2 separate regions of the Homo sapiens genome follow, and region 2 is linked to region 1. Evidence: promoter capture Hi-C in human tissues and cell types (Jung and others, 2019). All regions are on one chromosome and are shown on one strand. The core of a region is centred on a gene start or on the middle of the fragment in contact, and the rest is flanking DNA. Distances in the headings are between cores, read along the strand shown. Region 1 holds the start of UGT1A3 (UDP glucuronosyltransferase family 1 member A3). Region 2 has its middle 5.2 kb from the start of UGT1A8.

Region 1 (6,642 bases), core at 2,097-4,596:
ATGGCCTAGAAGACATAGGCATGGGCCAGGACTTCATGACTAAAACACCAAAAGCAATGGCAACAAAAGCCAAAATAGACAAATGGGATCTAATTAAACTAAAGAGCTTCTCCACAGCAAAAGAAACTACCATCAGAGTGAACAGGCAACCTACAGAATGGGAGAAAATTTTTGCAATCTACCCATCTGACAAAGGGCTAATATCCAGAATCTACAAAGAACTCAAACAAATTTACAAGAAAAAAAACAAACAAACAACCTCATCAAAAAGTGGGCAAAGGATATGAACAGACACTTCTCAAAAGAAGACATTTATGCAGCCAACAGACACATGAATAAATGCTCATCATCACTGGTCATCAGAGAAATGCAAATCAAAACCACAATGAGATACCATCTCACGCCAGTTAGAATGGTGACCATTAAAAAGTCAGGAAACAACAGATGTTGGAGAGGATGTGGAGAAATAGGAACACTTTTACACCATTGGTGGGAGTGTAAATTAGTTCAACCATTGTGGAAGACAGTGTGGCGATTCCTCAAGGACCTAGAACTAGAAATACCATTTGACACAGCCATACCATTACTGGGTATATACCCAAACGATTATAAATGATACTACTCTAAGGACACATGCACACGTATGTTTATTGTGGCACTATTCACAATAGCAAAGACCTGGAACCAATCCAAATGTCCATCAATGATAGACTGGATTAAGAAAATGTGGCACATATACACCATGGAATACTATGCAGCCATAAAAAAGGATGAGTTCATGTCCTTTGCAGGGAGATGGACAAAGCTGTAAACCATCATTCTCAGCAAACTATCACATGGACAGAAAACCAAACACCGCATGTTCTCACTCATAGGTGGGAACTGAACAGCAAGAACACTGGACACAGGCCAGGGAACATCACACGCCAGGGCCTGTTGTGGGGTGGGGGACTGGGGGAGGGATGGCATTAGGAAAAATACCTAATGTAAATGACGAGTTGGTGGGTGCAGGAAACCAACATGGCACATGTATACCTATGTATCAAACCTGCAATTTGTGCACATGTACCCTAGAACTTAAAGTATAATAAAAAAAAAAAAAAGAAAGAAAAACTGGAAGGGCAACAGTCACTATTTAAATGCCATCCCACTTTTCAACATTTTTACAAATCTAAATAAACACGTATTTTATAATTGAATAATTACATTGCATAAAAAAATCATGTCGTTTGATCAAAAAGAAAAATGAAGCTTAGAGTCTTTTGCAATAATACCTACATTTATAAAAAAGGCACAGAAATAAGAATACAAAAGGATCTAAATCATGGAAGTTCATACACATTCGGTGAATATGACATAAAAAGGCTGATTCTCTCACGATGTACATGGCACAGCAAGGAATAAGAAACAATATTCAGGTCCCAGAGTACCATTTCAACGAAACCCAAATATTCTGGATTAATGAAAGCTGCCTCTGAAATTTTTGGTAAAGGAGTAGATCCCACTATAGAAACCTGGAGTGCAGTAGGGTGGGTTTGGTGATGTGATGAGCCTCTCCTGAGAAATGCTTCCCTTCTTGGACGCATGTCCATTCATCACTGTCCCCAGCTTCACTGGGCTTATAGATTCACAGTCTTATCTCCTCCCTAGCCCCTTCCGCCATTTCTTGATAATTTCAGCATTCCAAGTAGAAGAATCATTTGAGATGCAACCATTACTTTGCCTTCCGAACTCTGAGATGTCCCCACATCATGCACCAGACCCCAAATCCTGACCAGAAAATCTCTTGACAGCACAGATCCCTGTCTGGAAACTGAACTTCGTGTGTCATTCTCTAATCACAGACATCCATCCCAACTTCATTGCCCCACTTCCACTGAGTCAACCTCTCTGACACTTCTATTTCATGTGAGTGCCTAGGTCTCCTGTGGTCACCTGTCTATCATTTGCAAGATGGGACAACTAAAAATTATCATGTCAACAATTGTAATTTACTGTTGCATCATCTTTCCCCTGAAAATCATGCTAGCAAAAAATCCAGGATGGATCAGTTCCAAACGTAGTGTCCCTGTTCCTGCCAAGCTGAAGGACATGCACAACCATGAAGATGGTGCCTTTACAAACCAACAGTCTCTATGAGTCACACCAGTCCTTGTCCATCCTTTTACAAACATTCGTGTCTACTTCCTCTTCCTCTCAGTGACCATTTAAAACCTGAAATACGCTACTAGAGACCCCTTAACAGTTTATCTCACTGAAGGCTATTATGACAAGGAGAAGCAGAAATGAAATATTTGGAAAGATAAGTAAATATGGAAGCAATTTTAAATAAATACATTTTTTTAAAAAGTGTTTTGCCTGGAACATTGATTGGATGAAGGCACCAATACAGACCTGAGATAGTGGCTTCCTGTTGGCACAGTTGATGCCCCCAATGAAGACCATGTTGGGCATGATTGGCCTGGGGTAGTCCATCACAAAGTCCCCTCGGAACAGCCACACAGATGCATGACTGAGAATATCCACCACTGACACCTCTCTCTGAAAAAGCTCAGAGGCAAGGCTTGCATAAGGAGCAGAAAAAGCATGGCAAATGTAGGACAGGGCCAGAGGGTAGAGCATGTTCTTGACCCTTTGCATGAATGTCATGTGGTCTGAATTGGTTGTTAGTAATCTAGGAATATAGGAGGAAGGGTTTGGACACTGTGTGCCCTTAAAGTCTAAATCACATGGAATGTTCCTCAAAAAAAACACAGTAGGAATCGACAGGTACTTAGCCAGCACTGCCGCGCAGAGGTTAACGGGGTCTGTTAAAACCACATCAAAGGAAGTAGCATTCAGGTGCCTGATCAGGGCCTCATTATGTAGTAGCTCCACACAAGACCTATGATAGACCAAAGACATATTGTTCAACATTGCCATACTTCTGAAAAATTTCTTCAGAAAATGTTCTGTTTCAAAGTACAGTTGAGTGTGGCCCAGCACATGGCGATCAAATTCATCCTGGGTCCACGAAATGGCATAGGTTGTCAGGGTGAAAAAGTTCTCTTCTTTGATGTGCATATTCACCTCTGGGGTGAGGACCACTGCCTGGTGGCCTCTGGCATGGAGCTCCCGCAAGACCTCCCGCATGCTGAGCCAGTGGCTGCCATCAATGGGCACCACCAACACCTTTCCACTCTCAGCCCAGGGCTGGACACTGAGGAGAAGCAGCAGTCCTGTGGCCAGCCACGGCAGGGGAACCTGGAGTCCTGTGGCCATCTCAGCAGAAGACACGGACAGCTGACTGTCCACCCCACGCTGTGCCTGCTACATTTGCTTTCTTCATCTTAATTACCTTGTCACTGAGCCACTTAGCAAATCAACGTGTAATTGGAAGACAGAGTGCCCTCCTCTAGTTAATTATTAACCATTAATCTATCACTGTTTTTCACTGTGGGCCCCACCCTGGAAAAGACCGATCATGACTATCTTGAAAAACACGTCTGACCCTGTGCTCACTCTGGGGAACATCCAAGTTCAAGCTCTTGTTTCTCATCCAATTCCCAACACAAGGCTGTGAACACCCATTTCATGTCACTGTCTCCTACTTCTCTGTTAACCATGTTTATCAGGCAGCAGCTGAGGTCTGAGGAGTCACCATTGCCCTAGCCCCCAGTCATATGCTCTCTGCTGGATGTGACCCTATTTGCTAACCCTTGAAACTTTCTTCTCATGTATGAGTAACGCAGCGCATCCAAAAACCATACAACATTGCTAAGCCAGCTTTCTCTGAACAGCGTGGAGGCTGGCTATGTGGTTTTGGTCGTTTTTCGCACCAGGATATTTCTTGTAAGGATCAGAGAGGACTCTCTCTGAAGTGGCTGTCAATATAGAAAAAGCTGCAGGGAGGCTGAGCTCAAGATGTGATGATCAGATTCTTGGGAAGACTTTGTTGAGGATTCTCCATATACACCATGGAAGAAGAGGTGCTGCTATCTAAAGCACACATGGGCAAGACAACCCTAGCAAAGACCCATGGTGGGTTCAGGGAGCTCCTGCTCACCAAGGGACTGGGGGAGCTGGAGCCTGGCCTCAGATCTTGCACAGTCTGAATTCCTCTTCTGAATGCCGAAGGCTCCAGTCTTTATTTCAGTCATCCAGGCCTTTATTTCATCCTGAAGATTATGGTCAGGCTCTTCTCCAAGTCAATCCAGCACCAAGTTCTGATAAGAATGGTTCCTCCAGAACAGAATGGGCTGCACAATTTGTGGGGGCCCTAGTCCAAATTTCAAGATGGAGAATTAAATATGTGCCTTTCTAAAGGAGAGACCCTGAGCACTCACAAGGGCCTCAAGCCCAATGAGGCTTATCCTACTCCAGAAAGTCACTCCCACATGTGCTGTGCTCACAAGATTGCTGATGCCACCTTGTCCTGGTCACCTCAGGATGATGTGGGCAGGCTGTCTGGGGTGTGCACTTTCTATCTCACTGCCCCTGTGTCTTCTTGCCTGGCCGTGTCTGCCATTGCTGGTGAGGCTGAGGCTTCCCTTAGGGAGGAAATTACTCCACATTGATAACAGATTCCACCTTTGGACAGAACCCATGGGACAGGCAGTGAATGGAAGCGTCTACTGGGGGACACCCAGCTCAAGGGCAGCACACGCAGGATGGCACAGAAAAGGAAGGTCTGCAAGGGCTTTGGGAACTGTCCAGTAGAGGATGATTCCTGGGAATTTGTAAGGACATAGAGCACTAGAAAGGGATTCTCAGCTGTGGGTGCAACCTCTCAGCCTCTGAACTATTCCTCCAACCCCCTTAAAACTATATGCTTCCTAAGCACCCTCATGATGAGCCCAGGTGACGGGTGGAACACGCCTGGTAGTGTGCTCTTCCCACATTCATGGGCTCCCATGTTCTACCTCCAAGTAGTAGTGTTTTATTTAGACAGTGAAGTCATCTGATTTCTTGTCACATGTCTGGGACTCCCAGACCCTGAGGAGGCCCATGTATCTTGGAAGACGGTGGTACTCCAGAGACCTAGGGGCCCTAAGGATAGCAGAACTATGGGGAGGGAGGAGCTCCTGGTGCCTGGGAAACAGAAGGAGCTGCCCAAGTCATCAGCTTCCAGGGTCTGGAGATGAGGAGGGGTCTGGGCTGCACAGATAGACTTGGAGCCATCCGCATATGTGGAAGCCATGGGTGTCAGTGAGGTCACCCCAGCAAAGTCCAGAGACAGAAAAAAGCATCCTGAAAGACTGACCTGTGTGGTCTTGTTCCCCTCTGCCAATCTCACAGACCTAAACACACAAACTGGAATTCTTTAATGTTTGTAAGAGAACACAGAAACTAATCTTCACATCTTGGGGTAAAGATTCCTTAGGGTACAAAAACAACAAATGATAAAACTTTGCTAGAAAGAACCTCATCAAAATCTAAAACTTTTGCTCTTTGAAAGGTATTGTTTTTTAAAAATGAAAAAAGGAAGATCAGGAAAAAAGGAGATAATTGAATGGTAAGCTGATAGCTCTGAAGCCTGGAGAATAGAAGACTATGGAGAAAAGGAACAAAAATTAAATTTAAATGGTCGAATAGAGGAAAACCTCCAAGCCTTGAATAAGATGTGGGTTTCACTTTAAGCTTAGTGTCTGTGGTAGGCAGAATCACAGCCCCACAAAAGTATCTACATTGTACTTCCTCAAACCTGGGAATATGTTCCGTTACAGGTGGAAGAGACTTCACAGATATGATTAAATTAAGAGTTTTAAGATGGGGAGATTGTCCTGGGTATCTGGGCAGGACAGTGTAATCACAAGGGCTCTTACAAGTGAAGGAGACAGGCGTAAGAGTGGGAGACTTGAAGACGCTGCACTGCATCTCCCTAAAAGTGGAAAAGTACCATGAAATTCCAAAATTAATAAGGAAAAAGGAAATTTCTGTTAAAGAAATGAGCTTACATTCAGTGGAAAGAATAAGATTAAGAGTGGACAGAATCAGAATGCTGACATCAAAAGACTATGAGATGGAAGCAATTTTGGTTTTTGTTGTGTTTTAAATAAATAAATCAAAAAACCACAGGTGCTGAAACTCCTGAGCTCAATGATCCTCCCACCTGAGCCTCCCAAGTACCTGGGACCATAGGCGCATGCCACTGCACCCAGCTTTTCATATTGGAGTTTTAAAAAATGTTTTCTAAACTTTTTAAACAAGATTTCCATATGCCAAAGAAATTTTTATTTTTTTGAAATGGGGCCTCACTCTGTCACTCGGGCTGGAGTGAGGTGGTGTGAACATGGCACACTGCAGCCTCCACCTCCTCGGATCAAGTAATCCTCCTGCCTCAGCCTCCTGAGTAGCTGGGACCACAGGTGTGCGCCATCACACCTGGATAATTTTTTGATTTTTTGTAGAGATGCAGTCTCAGCACGTTTCCCAGGCTGCTCTCAGACTCCTGGGCTCAAACAATCCTCCTGCATCAGTCTCCCAAAGGGCTGAAATTGCAGGTGTGAGCCACCCACCTGCCTACAAATCATTTTCAAATTAAAAGAGATGGGGAATTGAAAAAATAACATAGGAGTAGCAATACTGGTATCCAATAAAATGGATTTTAAGGATTATTATTTAATGATAACAACAAACTATGTGAAGAAAATGTAAGTCTCT
Region 2 (6,642 bases), core at 2,321-4,820, 120 kb after region 1:
TACAGGAGCACCCAGATTCATAAAGCAAGTTCTTACAGACCTACAAAGAGACTTAGACTCCCATACAATAACAGTGGAAGACTTTAACACCCCACTGTCAATATTAGATAGATCAATGAGACAGAAAAGTAGCAAGGATATTGAGGACCTGAACTCAGCTCTGGATCAAGCAGACCTACTAGACATCTACAGAATTCTCCACCCCAAATCAACAGAATATACATTCTTCTCATCACCACACTGCACTTATTCTAAAATTGACCACATAATTGGAAGTAAAACAGTCTCTCAGACCACAGAGCAATCAAATTAGAACTCAGGATTAAGAAACTCACTCATAACCACACAACTGCATGGAAACTGAGCAACTTGCTCCTGAATAACTACTGGGTAAATAATGAAATTAAGGCAGAAATAAATAAGCTCTTTGAAACCAATGAGAACAAAGACACAACGTACCAGAATCTCTGGGACATGGCTAAAGCAGTGTTTAGAGGGAAATTTATAGCACTAAATGCCCACAGGAGAAAGCAGGAAAGATCTAAAATCAAAACCCTAACATCACAATTAAAAGAACTAGAGAAGCAAGAGCAAACAAATTCAAAAGCTAGCAGAAGACAAGAAAAAACTAAGATCAGAGCAGAACTGAAGAAGATAGAGACACAAAATATTTTCAAAAAATCAATGAATCCAGGAGCTGGTTTTTTGAAAAGATTAACAAAATAGATAGACCACTAGCCAGACTAATACAGAAGAAAAGAGAGAAGAATCAAATAGACACAATAAAAAATGATAAAAGGGAGATCACCACTGATCCGAGAGAAATACAAACTACCATCAGAGAATACTATAAACACCTCTATGCAAATAAACTAAAAAATCTTGGAGAAATGGATAAATTCCCGGACTCATACACCCTCCCAAGGCTAAACCAGGAAGAAGTCGAATCCCTGACTAAACCAATAACAGGTTCTGAAATTGAGGCAGTAATTAATAGCCTACCAACCAAAAAAAGCCCAGGACCAGATGGATTCACAGCCTAATTCTACCAGAGGTACAAAAAGGAGCTGGTTCCATTCCTTCTGAAACTATTCCCAACAATAGAAAAACAGAGACTCCTCCATAACTCATTTTATGAGGCCAGCATCATCTTGATACCAAAACCTGGCAGAGACACAACAACAACAACAAAAAAGTTCAGACCACTATCCCTGATGAACATCAATGGTGAAAATCCTCAATAAAATACTGCCAAACCAAATCCAGCAACACATCAACAAGCTTATCCACCATGATGAAGTTGGCTTCATCTCTGGAATGCAAGGCTAGTCCAACATATGCAAATCAATAAACGTAATCCATTACATAAACAGAACCAATGACAAAAAACACATGATTATCCTCATAGATGCAGAAAAGACCTTCAACAAAATTCAACAGCCCTTCATGCTAAAACCTCTCAATAAACCAGGTATTGATTGAACATATCTCAAAATAATAGGAGTATTTTATGACAAACACACAGCCAATATCATACTGAATGGGCAAAAGCTGGAAGCATTCCCTTTGAAAACTGGCACAAGATAAGGATGCCCTCTCTCACCACTCCTATTCAACATAGTATTGGAAGTTCTGGCCAAGGTAATCAGGCAAGAGAAAGCAATATAGGGATTCAAATAGGAAGAGAGGAAGTCAAATTGTCTCTGTTTGCAGATGACATGATTGTATATTTAGAAAACCCCATCATCTCAGCCCAAAATCTCCTTAAGCTGATAAGCAACTTCAGAAAAGTCTCAAGATACAAAAATCAATGTGCAAAAATCACAGGCATTCCTATACACCAATAACAGAAAAACAGAGCCAAATCATGAGTAAACTCCCATTCACAATTGCTACAAAGAGAATAAAATACCTAGGAATACAACTTACAAGGGATGGGAAGGACCTCTTCAAGGAAAACTACAAACCACTGCTCAAGTAAATAAGGGAGGACACAAACAAATGGAAAAACATTCCACGCTCATGGATAGGAAGAATCAATATCGTGAAAATGGTCATACTGTCCAAGGTAATTTATACATTCAATGCTATCCCCATCAAGCTACCATTGAATTTCTTCACAGAATTGGAAAAAAACTACTTTAAAGTTCATATGGAACTAAAAAAGAGCCAGTATAGCCAAGACAATCCTAAGCAAAAAGAACAAAGCTGGAGGCATCACGCTACTTGACTTCAAACTATACTACAAGACTACAGTAACCAAAACAGCATGGTACTTGTACCCAAACAGATATATAGACCAATGGAACAGAACAGAGGCCTCAGAAATTATGCCACACATCTACAACCATCTGACCTTTGACAAACCTGACAAAAACAAGAAATGGGGAAACGATTCCCTATTTAATAAATGGTGTTGGGAAAACTGGCTAGCCATTTGTAGAAAACTGAATCTGGACCCCTTCCTTACACCTTATACAAAAATTAACTCAAGATGGATTAAAGCCTTAAACATAAGACCTAAAACCATGAAAACCCTAGAAGAAAACCTAGGCAATAACCATTCAGGACATAGGCATGGGCAAAGACTTCATAACTAAAACACCAAAAGCAATGGCAACCAAAAGCCAAAATTGACAAATGGGATCTAATTAAACCAAAGAGCTTCTGCACAGCAAAAGAAACTATCATCAGATGGAACAGGCAACTTAAAGAATTGGAGAAAAGTTTTGCAACCTATCCATCTGACAAAGGGCTAATATCCAGAATCTAAAAGGAACTTAAACCAATTTACAAGAAAAAAACAACCCCATCAAAAAGTGCGCAAAGGATATGAACAGACACTTCACAAAAGAAGACATTTATATGACCAGCAAACATATCAAAAACAGCTCATCATCACTGGTCATTAGAGAAATGCAAATCAAATCCACAATGAGATACCATCTCATGCCAGTTAGAATGGCGATCATTAAAACTCAGGAAAGAACAGATGCTGGAGAGGATGTGGAGAAATAGGAACACTTTTACACTGTTGGTAGGAGTGTAAATTAGTTCAACCATTGTGGAACACAGTGTGGCGATTCCTCAAGGATCTAGAACCAGAAATATCATTTGACACAGCAATCCCATTACTGGGTATATACCAAAGGGCTTATAAATTATTCTACTATAAAGACGCATGCACACGTGTGTTTATTGCAACACTATTCGCAACAGCAAGGATGTGGAACCAACTCAAATGCCCATCAATGATAGACTGGATAAAGAAAATGTGGCACATATACAACATGGAATACTATGCAGCCATAAAAAAGGATGAGTTCATGTCCTTTGCAGAAACATGGATGAAGCTGGAAACCATAATTCTCAGCAAACTAACACAGGAACACAAAACCAAACACCGCATGCTCTCACACATAAGTTGGAGTTGAACAATGAGAACGCATGGACACAGGGAGGGGAACATCGCACACCAGGGCCTGTCGGGGGGTGGGGGGGTCTAGGGGAGGGATAGCTTAGGAGAAACACCTAATGTAGATGTCAGGTTGATGGGTGTAGCAAACCACCATGGCACGTGTATACCTGTGTAACAATGTTCTGCACATATATCCCAGAACTTAAAGCATTTAAAAAGAAAGAAAAGTGTAAGAGCAGGAAAAAAAAAATGCATGTGGCACCAGGGCATATGTTTACCTATGTAACAAACCTGAACATCTTCCACATGTACCCCAGAAATAAAAATTAAAATTAAAAAGAAAGTATGTGCCATCTCTCCTGTCTCTCTCTTGCTCCTGCTCTTGCCATGTGACACACCAGCTCCCCATCACCTTCTGTCATGATTGTAAGCTTCCTGAGGCCTCACCAGAAGCAGATGCTAGCACTGTGTTTCGTATAAAGGCTGCAAAACTGTGAGCCAATTAAACCTTTTTTCTTTATAAATTACCCAGCCTCAGGTATCCTTTACAGCAATCCAAACAGACAAATACAGCCTTGCACAAAGAAAATCAACCGTAATATTTGTTGCACTGGACAGAATTATATTCTGCAGGTTTTCTTGATACCTTCATGGACGAGCTAAGCAGTGTGTGTCAGGCAACACCTTAAAGAACATTTAGTGAGAGATTCCACAAACAACCTCGGGGTATAATCCTTGTAGGAGTACAAGATGGCTCCTTTCAGGACACCCTAACTGGTACTAGACATTTGCTTAGTCATCTTTTCTTTTGGTGACTGGGGCACTTGCAGATGACTGTCCTTGAAAAATAAACATGACGGTCAGTGATCTACCTTCCCTGGAGGCTTACTTCAGAATAGAAATCAATGAAATGGAAAATGCGTTTAAAAAATGGCAAAATTAATTAAACCAAAGCTGGTTTGTTGAGAAAATTAATGAAACCAAAGCTGGTTTGTTGAGATCAATTAATTTGGTAAAGCTCTAGCCACCTTGATCTGAAAAAAAAAAGAGAGAAGAAATAAATTATCAATATCAGGAATGAGAGAGGTGGTATCACCATAGATTCTACAGATATTAAAATGCTAAGAGAATATCATGAACAAATTTATGCCCAAAAAATCTACAACTTAGATGAAATGGGCACATTTTGTTAAAGAGACAAACTGCTAGACTATTCACAAGAATAAATACATAACCCCAATAGAACTAACCTGTATCTGTCGAATTGAATTTGTATTTGTAATTCAAACCTTCCCACACGAAACAAAGTGAAGCTCAGATGACATCACTAATGAATCCAGCAAACATTGAAGGAACAAATAATACCAATTATTCACAAACTAGTCCCAAAAACTGAAGCCTAGGGGATTTCCTAATACATTTTATGGGACCAGCATTATCACAGTACCAAAACCAGACAAAGATATTATGAGATAAAAAAATTACAGACCTTCATGGCCTTAGATTCAAAAATTTTAAACAAAATATTATTAAGTCAAATTCTGTAATATTTTAAAATAGTTACTACATAAAAAAAATTATACACCATAACCAAATGGGGTTTATCCTAGGAATGCAAGGCTGGTTTGACATGGTACCACTATGTTCATAGCAACATAACTCACAAGAGCCCAGCCTGTAAGTGGAAACAACCCAAGCAAAAATGTGGTGTATATATACGGAATGCAATATTATTAGCCTTAGAAAGGAAGAAAATTCTGACATATGCTAACATGAATGAACTTTAAGGACATTGTGCAGAGTGAACTAAGCTAGTCACAAAACGACAAATGCTTTATGATTCTACTTATATGAGGTATCTAAAATAGTCAAATTCATAGAATAAAAGAGTTGAATGCTTGTTGACAAGGGCTGAGAGGTGGGGGGAGCAGAGAATTATTTTTTAAGGGGTCCAAAGTTTCAGTTTGGGAAGATGAAGAGAGTTCTGGAGATGAATGGTGGTGTTGGTTGCACAGCAACGTGAATGTACTCAATACTGAACTGTGCACCTAAAGTGGTGAAGATGATATATCTTATGCTATGTGTATTTCACCACAATTAATGATAAAATAAATAATTTTTATAAATCATTTAAAGTAACATACCATATAAATAAACTAAAAATGTATAAGCATATAATTACCTCAATAGGTATGGAAAAAGTGTTTGACAAAAATCCAAAATCCATTTCTGATAAAAAAAAAATTCTCAACAAACTAGGGGAAAAAAAGGGAAGTATCTTAAACTAATGAAGGGCATCTTGGAGGAACCCACAGCTAACATCATCTTTAATAGTGAAAGACTGAATGCTCACTCCTCAGATCATGCCAAGGACTGAGGGGCTGTTACCGCTTCTATTCAAGATTGTTTCTGCAGGCTACTAACCGTAACCCTAATCTAAGGAAGAGAGGCAAACACAAGGATTCAGGGCAAGAAGGGATAAACTAACTCTACTGCTTTGTGTAAATGCCATTGGATTTACAAATAGGACTGCCCGCATCTATAAACCTGCTAGCCTCCACACCTTGAAGGGAAAAGATCAATACCCACTACCAGCTTTTTTGTTGTACAAGAAAGCCTCGACAAGAACACTTCTTCTGGATTGGTTCTACATTGCTTTGTCTTGCCAGTAAGAGACTGTCTTTGAAAGTTCTTTTGATTTTGGACAATGCCCCTAGCCGCCCAGAACCCACGAGTTCAACACTGAAGGTTTCAAAGTGGTCTACCTGCCTGCAAACCCAACATCTCTAATTCAGCAACAAAAGTTGGGGGATATGGTCTTTCAAGATATGGATCTGTGAAAAATTCAAGAACGAATAGACACCACACCAGAGGAATCAGCAGAAGATGACTTGAAGGAGATTGGTGCTTTTGAATCTGTACCAGGTACTAAAGAAGCCATAGAAGAAGCAGTGCCAGTAAACAAACTGCTATCAAAACTAAGGAAGGCTGGAAGCGGTTGCTCACGCCTGTAATCCCAGCACTTTGGGAGGCCGAGGCCGGCGGATCACAAGGTCAGGAGATCGAGACCATGGTGAAACCCCGTCTCTACTAAAAATACAAAAAAAATTAGCCGGGCGCAGTGGCGGGCGCCTGTAGTCCCAGCTACTCGGGAGGCTGGGCCAGAGAATGGCATGAAGCCAGGAGGCGGAACTTGCAGTGAGCCGAGACTGCGCCACTGCACT

What was found. Contacts are between HindIII fragments. The study calls those that stand out against the background at their distance.
Region 2: a fragment that was not itself captured here is called in contact with the fragment with the promoter of UGT1A3 in region 1 in 2 of the 25 tissues and cell types used here (adrenal gland and hippocampus).

Annotation. Positions count from the first base shown.
Region 1 is chr2:233,725,746-233,732,387 of GRCh38, reverse strand. UGT1A3 (UDP glucuronosyltransferase family 1 member A3) reads right to left here and starts at 3,346. Exons shown (of 5, transcript NM_019093.4): 1 at 2,395-3,346. The coding sequence starts at 3,261. All of the region lies in intron 1 of UGT1A8 (UDP glucuronosyltransferase family 1 member A8), which reads right to left. All of the region lies in intron 1 of UGT1A10 (UDP glucuronosyltransferase family 1 member A10), which reads right to left. All of the region lies in intron 1 of UGT1A9 (UDP glucuronosyltransferase family 1 member A9), which reads right to left. It also overlaps UGT1A7, UGT1A6, UGT1A5, UGT1A4 and UGT1A. The HindIII fragment of the contact is 9,204 bases long and covers 1-6,642 here.
Region 2 is chr2:233,609,063-233,615,704 of GRCh38, reverse strand. It overlaps UGT1A. Among named protein-coding and RNA genes, the nearest start is that of UGT1A8, 5.2 kb to the left of the region's middle. The HindIII fragment of the contact is 6,432 bases long and covers 355-6,642 here.